3 separate regions of the Homo sapiens genome follow, and regions 1 and 2 are each linked to region 3. Evidence: promoter capture Hi-C in human tissues and cell types (Jung and others, 2019). All regions are on one chromosome and are shown on one strand. The core of a region is centred on a gene start or on the middle of the fragment in contact, and the rest is flanking DNA. Distances in the headings are between cores, read along the strand shown. Region 1 has its middle 30 kb from the start of CRYGD. Region 2 overlaps C2orf80 (chromosome 2 open reading frame 80). Region 3 holds the start of CRYGB (crystallin gamma B).

Region 1 (2,876 bases), core at 9-2,508, 51 kb after region 3:
TGACAAATGAGAGGAAGGATGGAAGCAAGAAATCCAGGAAGCCACAAGAGTGTTAGCAGAGAGCAGGGCCAACTCCAAGTGTATCTGCTCCTTGATAGGGGTCAGCTGGACATAGCCTGTGCCTCCCATTTTGGAGAAATAAGAGCTTAGGGTAGCCAGATCTTCTCACTTTTTGCGAAAACCTAAAACTGTGCATTCAATGGCAATTACCTACCCCAACACTGATTTTTAATGTTGCTTAAACATCTTTAAATCACCACACAGGACAAGCAAAACATCCTCAGTTAAATTTCTGTACAATTAGGAATACAGGAGGGATTTAAATTCCAAACAGGGCCGGACGCGCTGGCTCATGCTTGTAATCCCAGCACTTTGGGAGGCCGAGGTGGGTGGATCACTTGAGGTCAGGAGTTCAAAACCAGCCTGGCCAACATGATGAAACCCCATCTCTACTAAAATACAAAAAAATTAGCCGGGCGCAGTGGCAGGCACCTGTAATCCCAGCTACTTGGGAGGCTGAGGCAGGAGAATTGCTTGAACCCAGGAGACAGAGTTTGCAGTGAGCTGAGATCACACCACTGGAATCCAGCCTGGGTGACAGAGCGAGACTCCATCTCAAAAAATAATAAATAAATAAAAATTAAAAAAAATTAAATCTAGACAATAAGGTTTGGTAATTGATTCCTAGAGTCAGGCCAACCTGCGTTTGAATTCTTTTTTTCTCACTAACCAACCAGGAGGCCAGGGGCTAGTGAGACAGCCTCTTTGAGCCTTATTACACAAGATGGTTGACATTGTTGCTATGAAAGACAAATAAGAAATGCATGTTAAGTATTTAGAACAGGACCTAGCATATAATAAATACTCAATAGACTGGGTGCACTGGCTGATGCCTGTAATCTGAGCACTTTGGGAGGCAAGGTAGGAGTATTGTTTGAGACTGGGAGTTCAAGACCAACCTGGGCAACATAGTAAGACCTCACCTCTACAAAAATAAATAAATATATACATTTTTTAAGTGCTCACTATGTGTTTCTGTGGCTGTTGTTATATCTATTGTATTGTATTCTACATTGTATATTTTATTATTGTCTAGTTAATATATTATTATCCTTTTCATCAGTTAGAATTGAGTTTTTATTTAGATTCAAAGCACCACAAATACCCACTGCAATCTTAAAAACAACAATTCATATCCCTGGTTTTGATACCCATAGTTGTAAGAAAAGCAAGAGAAAACCGGCTGGGTAGAGCGGCTCACACCTGTAATCCTAGAACTTTGGAATGCCGAAGCAGGAGTATTGCTTGAGGGCAGGAGCTCAAGGCCAGCCTGGGCAACATGTTGAGACTCTATCTCTACAATCTTTAAAAAGTTAACTGGGCCGGGCGCGGTGGCTCACGCCTGTAATCCCAGCACTTTGGGAGGCCGAGGCGGGTGGATCACGAGGTCAGGAGATCGAGACCATCCTGGCTAACAAGGTGAAACCCCGTCTCTACTAAAAATACAAAAAATTAGCCGGGCGCGGTGGCGGGCGCCTGTAGTCCCAGCTACTCGGGAGGCTGAGGCAGGAGAATGGCGTGAACCCGGGAAGCAGAGCTTGCAGTGAGCCGAGATTGCGCCACTGCAGTCCGCAGTCCGGCCTGGGCGACAGAGCGAGACTCCGCCTCAAAAAAAAAAAAAAAAAAAAAAAAAAAAAAAAAAAAAAAAAAAAAAAGTTAACTGGGCGGCCAGGCCTGTGGCTCACACCTGTAATCCCAGCACTTTGGGAGGCCAAGGTGGGCAGATCAGGAGGTCAGCAGATCAAGACCATCCTGGCTAAAACGGGGAAACCCAGTCTCTACTAAAAATACAAAAAATTAGCCAGGTGTGGTGGCGGGCACCTGTAGTCCCAGCTACTCGGGAGGCTGAGGCAGGAGAATGGCGTGAATTCAGGAGGCGGAGCTTGCAGTGAGCTGAGATGGCGCCACTGCACTCCAGCCTGGGCGACAGAGCGAGACTCTGTCTCAAAAAAAAAAAAAAAAAAAGTTAACCGGGCATGGTGTTGAGTGCCTGTAATCCCACCTACTCAGGAGGCTGAGGCAGGAAGATCACTTGAGCACAGGGGGTGGAGGTTGCAGTGAGCTATGATGAAACCACTGCACTCCAGTCTGGGTGACAGAGCGAGACCCTGCGAAAGGAAGGAAGGAAGGAAGGAAGGAAGGAAGGGAGGGAGGGAGGGAGGGACTTAGCTGTCATTATTTTTATCCTGCCTAAGGAAAACAAGCCAGAAAATATGGACTGGAAATTCAGTGAGTCTTCTCCCAAGAATATTTGCTAATTGCATTTTCGAATGAGCCTCATTCTTTCTCTCACTTCTTTTCAAGTCTTGCAAGTTTTTAACTTAGAAATTTTTCAGGCTTAGAAACTTAGATGGCTCACGCCTGTAATACCAGCACATTGGGAGGTCAAGGTGGGAGGATTGATTGAGCCTGGGTATTTGAGACAAACCTGGTCAAAAAAGTGAGACCTCACTTCTAAAAAATAATTTTTAATTAATTAATTAATTTAAATCGATCAATTAAATTTGTTAATTAAATTTTTCCACCTTATATTTTCAAAAATAATGAATTTTTTTAACATTTTCAATAGCCCAACCTAAATTTATAATTAAAGATAAAGTGGACTGTTTCAAGAAGTCTAAGTGAACAGAAATCTCCCTTGCTAAAGATAAGGGTTCAAAGCTTTACATTTAATCCTCAAAATAAATTAGATCCAATCTTGCTTTGAGAGCACCCAGCAGATGAGCAACAGCTGTTATGTTTGACATACATTTGACCTTCATTTCTGTCTTCTAGCAAAATAGGAAAGTAAGATTAGCTTATATGAGATCAGAATA
Region 2 (2,891 bases), core at 273-2,772, 37 kb before region 3:
AAACAAGGCTAATATTGACACCCATCCCCCAAATGTCCTCTTCCTCATCTTCCCCTCACCCTGAGATTGTTCATATGGTCATTTCAACCCACTAACCAGAAAGCAAAGAGAATGAGAAAATAAAAATCATGAGAGTTATTTGCTATTAGGAAAGAAGATTAAAAATCAAAATTAATGCCAGGCAAAATGTTACGTCTGTGGAGTTAAGAGTTTGACAAAATTAGCTATCATGTAGTTCTCAAAATAATTTCTTTACCATTTGCATTAGTGAGAGAAAACCAAATAAATTAAGTAACCCTAAAAATCCTTGGTGTTATTTATTTCGAAGCCCAGACTCAGGATCTGAAAGTTCACGTCACAGAAATTGAGGAAGAAACCATATAAAGATCTAACTCAAAAGAAATTAGCAAACCCTCAGTTTTTTCACTGCCCATTTACTATCCTTACACTAATAAAAAAGACTCTCTCCCTCCACTCCCCTCTCCTCTTCTTCTCCGACTAAAGTAGAGCCAGGCTCACTGGCTTTCAAAACTACCCTGGAGCTAAGGAAATAGTTAAGCCTTATTCTCTGTGTACACATATTAAACAGAGAAATTAAGTAGATTAGAGCAGTGCTTCTCAAACTTTAATGAGGTCGTATTACAAGGCTGTTTTGATTCAGGAGGTGAAGGGGGGCGGGGGTGAGGGGGGCGCCCCCGCGGCCTAGGAATTTGCATTTCAAATGACCAAACAAGTGATGCCAAGGCATCAAACTTTGGATCCGGTTGCAACATTTGGTCATGGTCCCATTCTTCCTGTTTATTTATTCATTTAGGTTCACTGTTCAGTTTGGTTCAGTCCCTGGAAGAAATAATTCCACCGTTTAAAAATGTTAAAACTTCAGAACGCCTCTACAAAAATTAAAAACAAAACCAATCTTCCGTTTTCTGTGTGTGGGGACTGAAAGGAGAGAAGGAATATTTTGATAGACAAATGGTAAATATGCTTACTGAACAAGAACTCTTAGGAATTACTAGGAAAAGGTGGTCACCATGATAAAAATAAGCCTCCGCATTGGTTCTCAGCTTTTTACTATACGTGCGTGTGAAACTCTCAGCAAGTCACTTACTCAGGTCTGCCCCCTTCCCCGCCCGCTCCGTCCTTGCCTCATGCTAGTTCCTCTACCTGTGATTTCCTTCCCCATCTGTAGACATTCTCATCCCACAAGCCCCAGCTCCAATGCAGCTTCCCTCTCTGAAGCTTCTTGGGATTCTAGCTATCTCCCCAGGTAGACATAAAACGGCCCATCCCTCCAAATTCCCACCACACTGCCCCTGTACCCCTGGAAGCACATTTCTGACATTCTACTCACAGAATCAGAAATTGTTCCCTGCAGCCCTGTTCCCCCACCCTTACCTTTTACTATGTTAAAATTTAGGGAAACTGAGGCCCAGAAAGCATCAGTTACTCACCTAAGAATATTCCGTGAGTTGTTGGCAATACCTAGATTTGAGCCCAGATTTTCTGATTCCAAGTTTATTATTCTTCACTGATCTCTCCTTTCTTTTCCAAATCACAGAAATCAGATAACTGCTCTAGTGGAAATAAATTTAATGTCTCAAGATCCCAAAATATTTCTGGCTGATTCATCCCTGTGAGGCGAGGTCTCAGAAAAAAAAAAAAAAATCTGGCCGAGCATCAGGTTATTAAAGCTAATGATCCTTCCCATTTTGGACATGACAGACTAGAATAGGCTTAGCAGTCCCATTGTCATTGGGTCCAGGGAGTACTTCGGCCAATGTCTAAGCCTGTTTCTTTGCTCTCTGTGCTTCCTGCTCCCAGGCACACTATGACTTGGCCATCAGTGTTGCTTTGCAATGGCTGGATCCCTCAGAAGACTTAACTTGGCTGGAGTGGGAGGAACTGTAAGTTGAAGTAGGTTTGTTGCTTTCCTCTTTAATTTGTGCCTATGATTAATGATAGAGGAAGTTCCAGCCCTAACATCTTCCATCATGAGGCACTTTGATTTGAAAACACTACTGGGTGAATATCCCTCTTCAACGAGACACCTGAGGAACCTGAACAGTTGCCAACTTGAAGAAGTTACATGTTTCCATGTTTTGCATCTCTATACTAATTGACTTCAGTGAGATGAAAGACTTTCTTGCACAGAATGTTGTGTCTTAAGGGGCCGGGCGCGGTGGCTCAGGCCTGTAATCCCAGCACTCTGGGAGGCTGAGGCAGACTCATTACTTGAAGCCAGGAGTTCAAGACCAACCTGGACAATATGGTAAAACCTCGCCTCTATTAAAAATACAAAAATTCGCCTAGCGTGGTGGCGCACACCTGTACTCAGGAGGCTGAGGCAGGAGAGGAGAATCACTTGAACCCAGGAGGCAGAGGTTGCAGTGAGCCAAGATTGTGCCACTTCACTCCAGCCTGGGCAACAGAGTGAGACTCCATCTCAAAAATAAAGAATGCTCTGTCTTAGAAACATGACTGCTTTACTATGTACATGCCATGATTTAAAACAGTCAGTTCTATGGGTAAAGACTGTAACCTTTTCCTAAGGACTACCAAACAAATTCTTAAGCATTTAGGCAGACATGTATCTGAGCTGAGCTGTTTGAAGCGCAGAATAATTTTCTTTCTGGGATTACCAGCATTTTCTGTCATGTATAGGGAGTGTTCAGGCAGACTCACTCAATTGGTAAGAACACAGAACTAATGAGGACAGGATCAAATAGCTTATTCTGGAGGCCTGTTATTTTTTTTCTACTCAATGGCTCTGGACTACACACCTGATCCTAGAGAGTTGTAACAGTTAGGGTTTAGCTGTAATGACCAATTTGAAAATCCAATTGAAAATCCAATTTGAACAGCCTTAAGCAAAAAAGCTGGGGAGTAGATTT
Region 3 (2,829 bases), core at 167-2,666:
GCGAAGATAGTTGTATCCCATGTGAAGGCCCAGTGTAGGGCATCCACCATTGAAGAGGCACTAAACAACCAAGTAGAAAAAATGATTTGGTCATTTGATTCCAGTCAGCGTCTGCCATCAGCCACCCTACTGCTGGCAGTGAGCTCACTAAGAGAGCGTTCATAGTGGTATGGATGAAGGCTATGCATTAACTTCTACTTATTAAGGCTAATCCAGCTATTTCCACTGTAGAATGTCCAATCTGCCAGCAATAGGGACCAACTCTGAGCCCTTTTGGTCCCATGCCTTGAGAAGACCAATCAGCCACTTAGTGGTAACATTTGAGGCAGAGCAGGAACACCAAACAGCAGGCAGGACTCTGGACAGCCACCAGCAGAAGGAGGGATTTAGGCCCTTAGGAAGATCTGAAAGGGGGAAGAAAGCCACAACTATCTGTTTTTGCTCAGGTCAGAGCCAATTATTGAGGACCTGCAATGTGCCAACCCTCTGCTCTAGGGCTCAGGGATAGACATGAACAAGAAATAATACCCAGCCCCCAGAAGCCTACAAAATTCCAGGCAAGTATCAGTTTTATTCAAGACAAGCCCCCAAACACCAACAATGATGATCACAGAATTTTTTTTTTTTTTTTTTTGCGACAGGGTCTTGCTCTGTTGCCCAGGCTGGAGTGCAGTGGTGCAATCATGGCTCACTGCAACCTCGACCTCCTGAGCTTAAGCAATCCTCTCACCTCAGCCTCCCAAATAGCTGGGACTACAGGTATGCGCCACCATGCAGGGCTAATTTTTGTATTTGTTGTAGAGATGGGGTCTCACCATGTTACCTAGGCTGGTCTCTAACTCCTGAGCTCAAGCAATCCACCTGCCTCAGCCTCCCAAAGTCCTGGGATTATAGGTGTGCACCACCTCGCCTGGCTGATCACAGAATTTTGAATTTGAACTAAGCTTTATGGGTTTTAACACACTTTCACAGATTACTTCACTTGATTCCCTCTTCTTTAAGATTCCTTACTATTTAAATTCTGGCTTTTAGAACTAAAACACACACACACACACACACAAAAACACCACCAGTCCCTGAGCAGAATTCATTACTTAGTTTAATGACTTTTGAGAAGTCAATTAAGCAGAGTAAACTATAAAATAAAAGCACAGAGACAGAATTTCGCCCATCCTTTTGCTCAACTAAAAGTGTACTCTATTCATTTTGATGGCAACAACAGCTTTAGTGAATTAGAACAACCCGAACCTACCAGAAAGAATGAGAGTAAACCATTCAGCCAACCCCAGTGACCTGGGCACGGAGAGCAGCGAGCTTGCAAATCCCCTTACTCACCAAAATGGGCCCTTTTGTGTGATTTCCTGTGGAGGCAGCAGTCAGGGCTGCTATACATACAGTGACGTTCCCGCAGTCCCACACAGCAACCAGAAAACATCTGCTCACTTCCTTCAAAATGGGAAAGGTAAGTCCTGGGTACCGGATGCTCAGCCTTGGCCCTAATGCAGTGGCCTCAGTGGGGGCCAATCACTCCATGCTCCCACATCTTCCATTTTTCAGATCACCTTCTACGAGGACAGGGCCTTCCAGGGCCGCAGCTACGAATGCACCACTGACTGCCCCAACCTACAACCCTATTTCAGCCGCTGCAACTCCATCAGGGTGGAGAGCGGCTGCTGGATGATCTATGAGCGCCCCAACTACCAGGGCCACCAGTACTTCCTGCGGCGTGGGGAGTACCCTGACTACCAGCAATGGATGGGCCTCAGCGACTCCATCCGCTCCTGCTGCCTCATCCCCCCGGTGAGTGTGGCTCTGTCTTTGCCTTCCATCTTTTTGGAAATAAAAGCTATTTCATGATATTCTTTTTTTTTTTTTTTTTTTTTTTGAGGCGGAGTCTCGCTCTGTCCCCCAGGGTGGAGTGCAGTGGCATGATCTCGGCTCACTGCAACTTCCGCCTCCCGGGTTCAAGCAATTCCCCTGCCTCAGCCTCCTGAGTAGTTGGGATTACAGGCATGCACCACCATGCCCAGCCAATTTTTGTATTCATAGTAGAGACGAGGTTGCACCATGTTGCCCAGGCTGATCTCGAACTCCTGGCCTCAAGTGATCCGCCCGCCTCGGCCTCCCAAAGTGCTGGGATTACAGGTGTGAACCACGGCATCCGGCCTATTTAATCACATTATTCTTAAATCCCAGCTACTCGGGCGGCTGGGGCAGGAGAATTGCTTGCTTGAAGCCGGGAGATGGAGGTTGCAGTGAGCCGAGATCGTGCCACTGCACTCCAGCCTGGTGACAGAGTGAGACTCCATCTCAAAACGACAATAACAACAACAACAACAACAACAACAAACTTTTGCTTGCTTTGTCTTACTTTTCTATTTGATTATTCCTCCTGAGAAGATAGGATCCTGTCTTCTGATTTCTATTCTAATTTAATGGTCAGTACCTATTAGCTCACTTAGAGGTATAAATTAGAGAAAAGGCCAAATCTGAAACTAAAGTTTGAGATTCCATATTTTCTGGGCAGTGACTGCAGAATTCTTAGAATTGTGGTGTGTGGGAGGCATGGGATACAGTGTCATAAAAACAGAAGTTAATGAAGGTGATACTTGCTGCTGAGGGAAATAAATAAGTTGAGAGCAGGAGGCTAGAAAGGAAGCTTAAAAGTCAGATAGGTTGAAATTTGAACTGAAGGCTGGGTGCGGTGGCTCACGCCTGTAATCCCAGCACTTTGGGAGGCCGAGGTCAGGAGGTCAGGAGTTCAAGACCACCCTGGCCAATATGGTGAAACCCCCTCTCTACTAAAAATACAAAAATTAGCTGGGCTTG

Evidence for each region. Contacts are between HindIII fragments. The study calls those that stand out against the background at their distance.
Region 1: a fragment that was not itself captured here is called in contact with the fragment with the promoter of CRYGB in region 3 in 1 of the 25 tissues and cell types used here (heart right ventricle).
Region 2: a contact is called between a fragment that was not itself captured here and the fragment with the promoter of CRYGB in region 3, in 1 of the 25 tissues and cell types used here (H1 embryonic stem cells).

The regions. Positions count from the first base shown.
Region 1 is chr2:208,093,234-208,096,109 of GRCh38, reverse strand. No RefSeq gene overlaps it. Among named protein-coding and RNA genes, the nearest start is that of CRYGD, 30 kb to the left of the region's middle. The HindIII fragment of the contact is 6,448 bases long and covers 1-2,876 here.
Region 2 is chr2:208,181,978-208,184,868 of GRCh38, reverse strand. It overlaps C2orf80 (chromosome 2 open reading frame 80), which reads left to right. Exons shown (of 9, transcript NM_001099334.3): 4 at 1,822-1,904. Among named protein-coding and RNA genes, the nearest start is that of C2orf80, 6.6 kb to the left of the region's middle. The HindIII fragment of the contact is 7,429 bases long and covers 1-2,891 here.
Region 3 is chr2:208,144,745-208,147,573 of GRCh38, reverse strand. It overlaps CRYGB (crystallin gamma B), which reads left to right and starts at 1,416. Exons shown (of 3, transcript NM_005210.4): 1 at 1,416-1,462; 2 at 1,558-1,800. The coding sequence starts at 1,454. The region is part of intron 2 of LOC100507443 (a long non-coding RNA gene); the gene reads right to left. RefSeq lists an enhancer at 1,601-2,224. The HindIII fragment of the contact is 6,166 bases long and covers 1-2,829 here.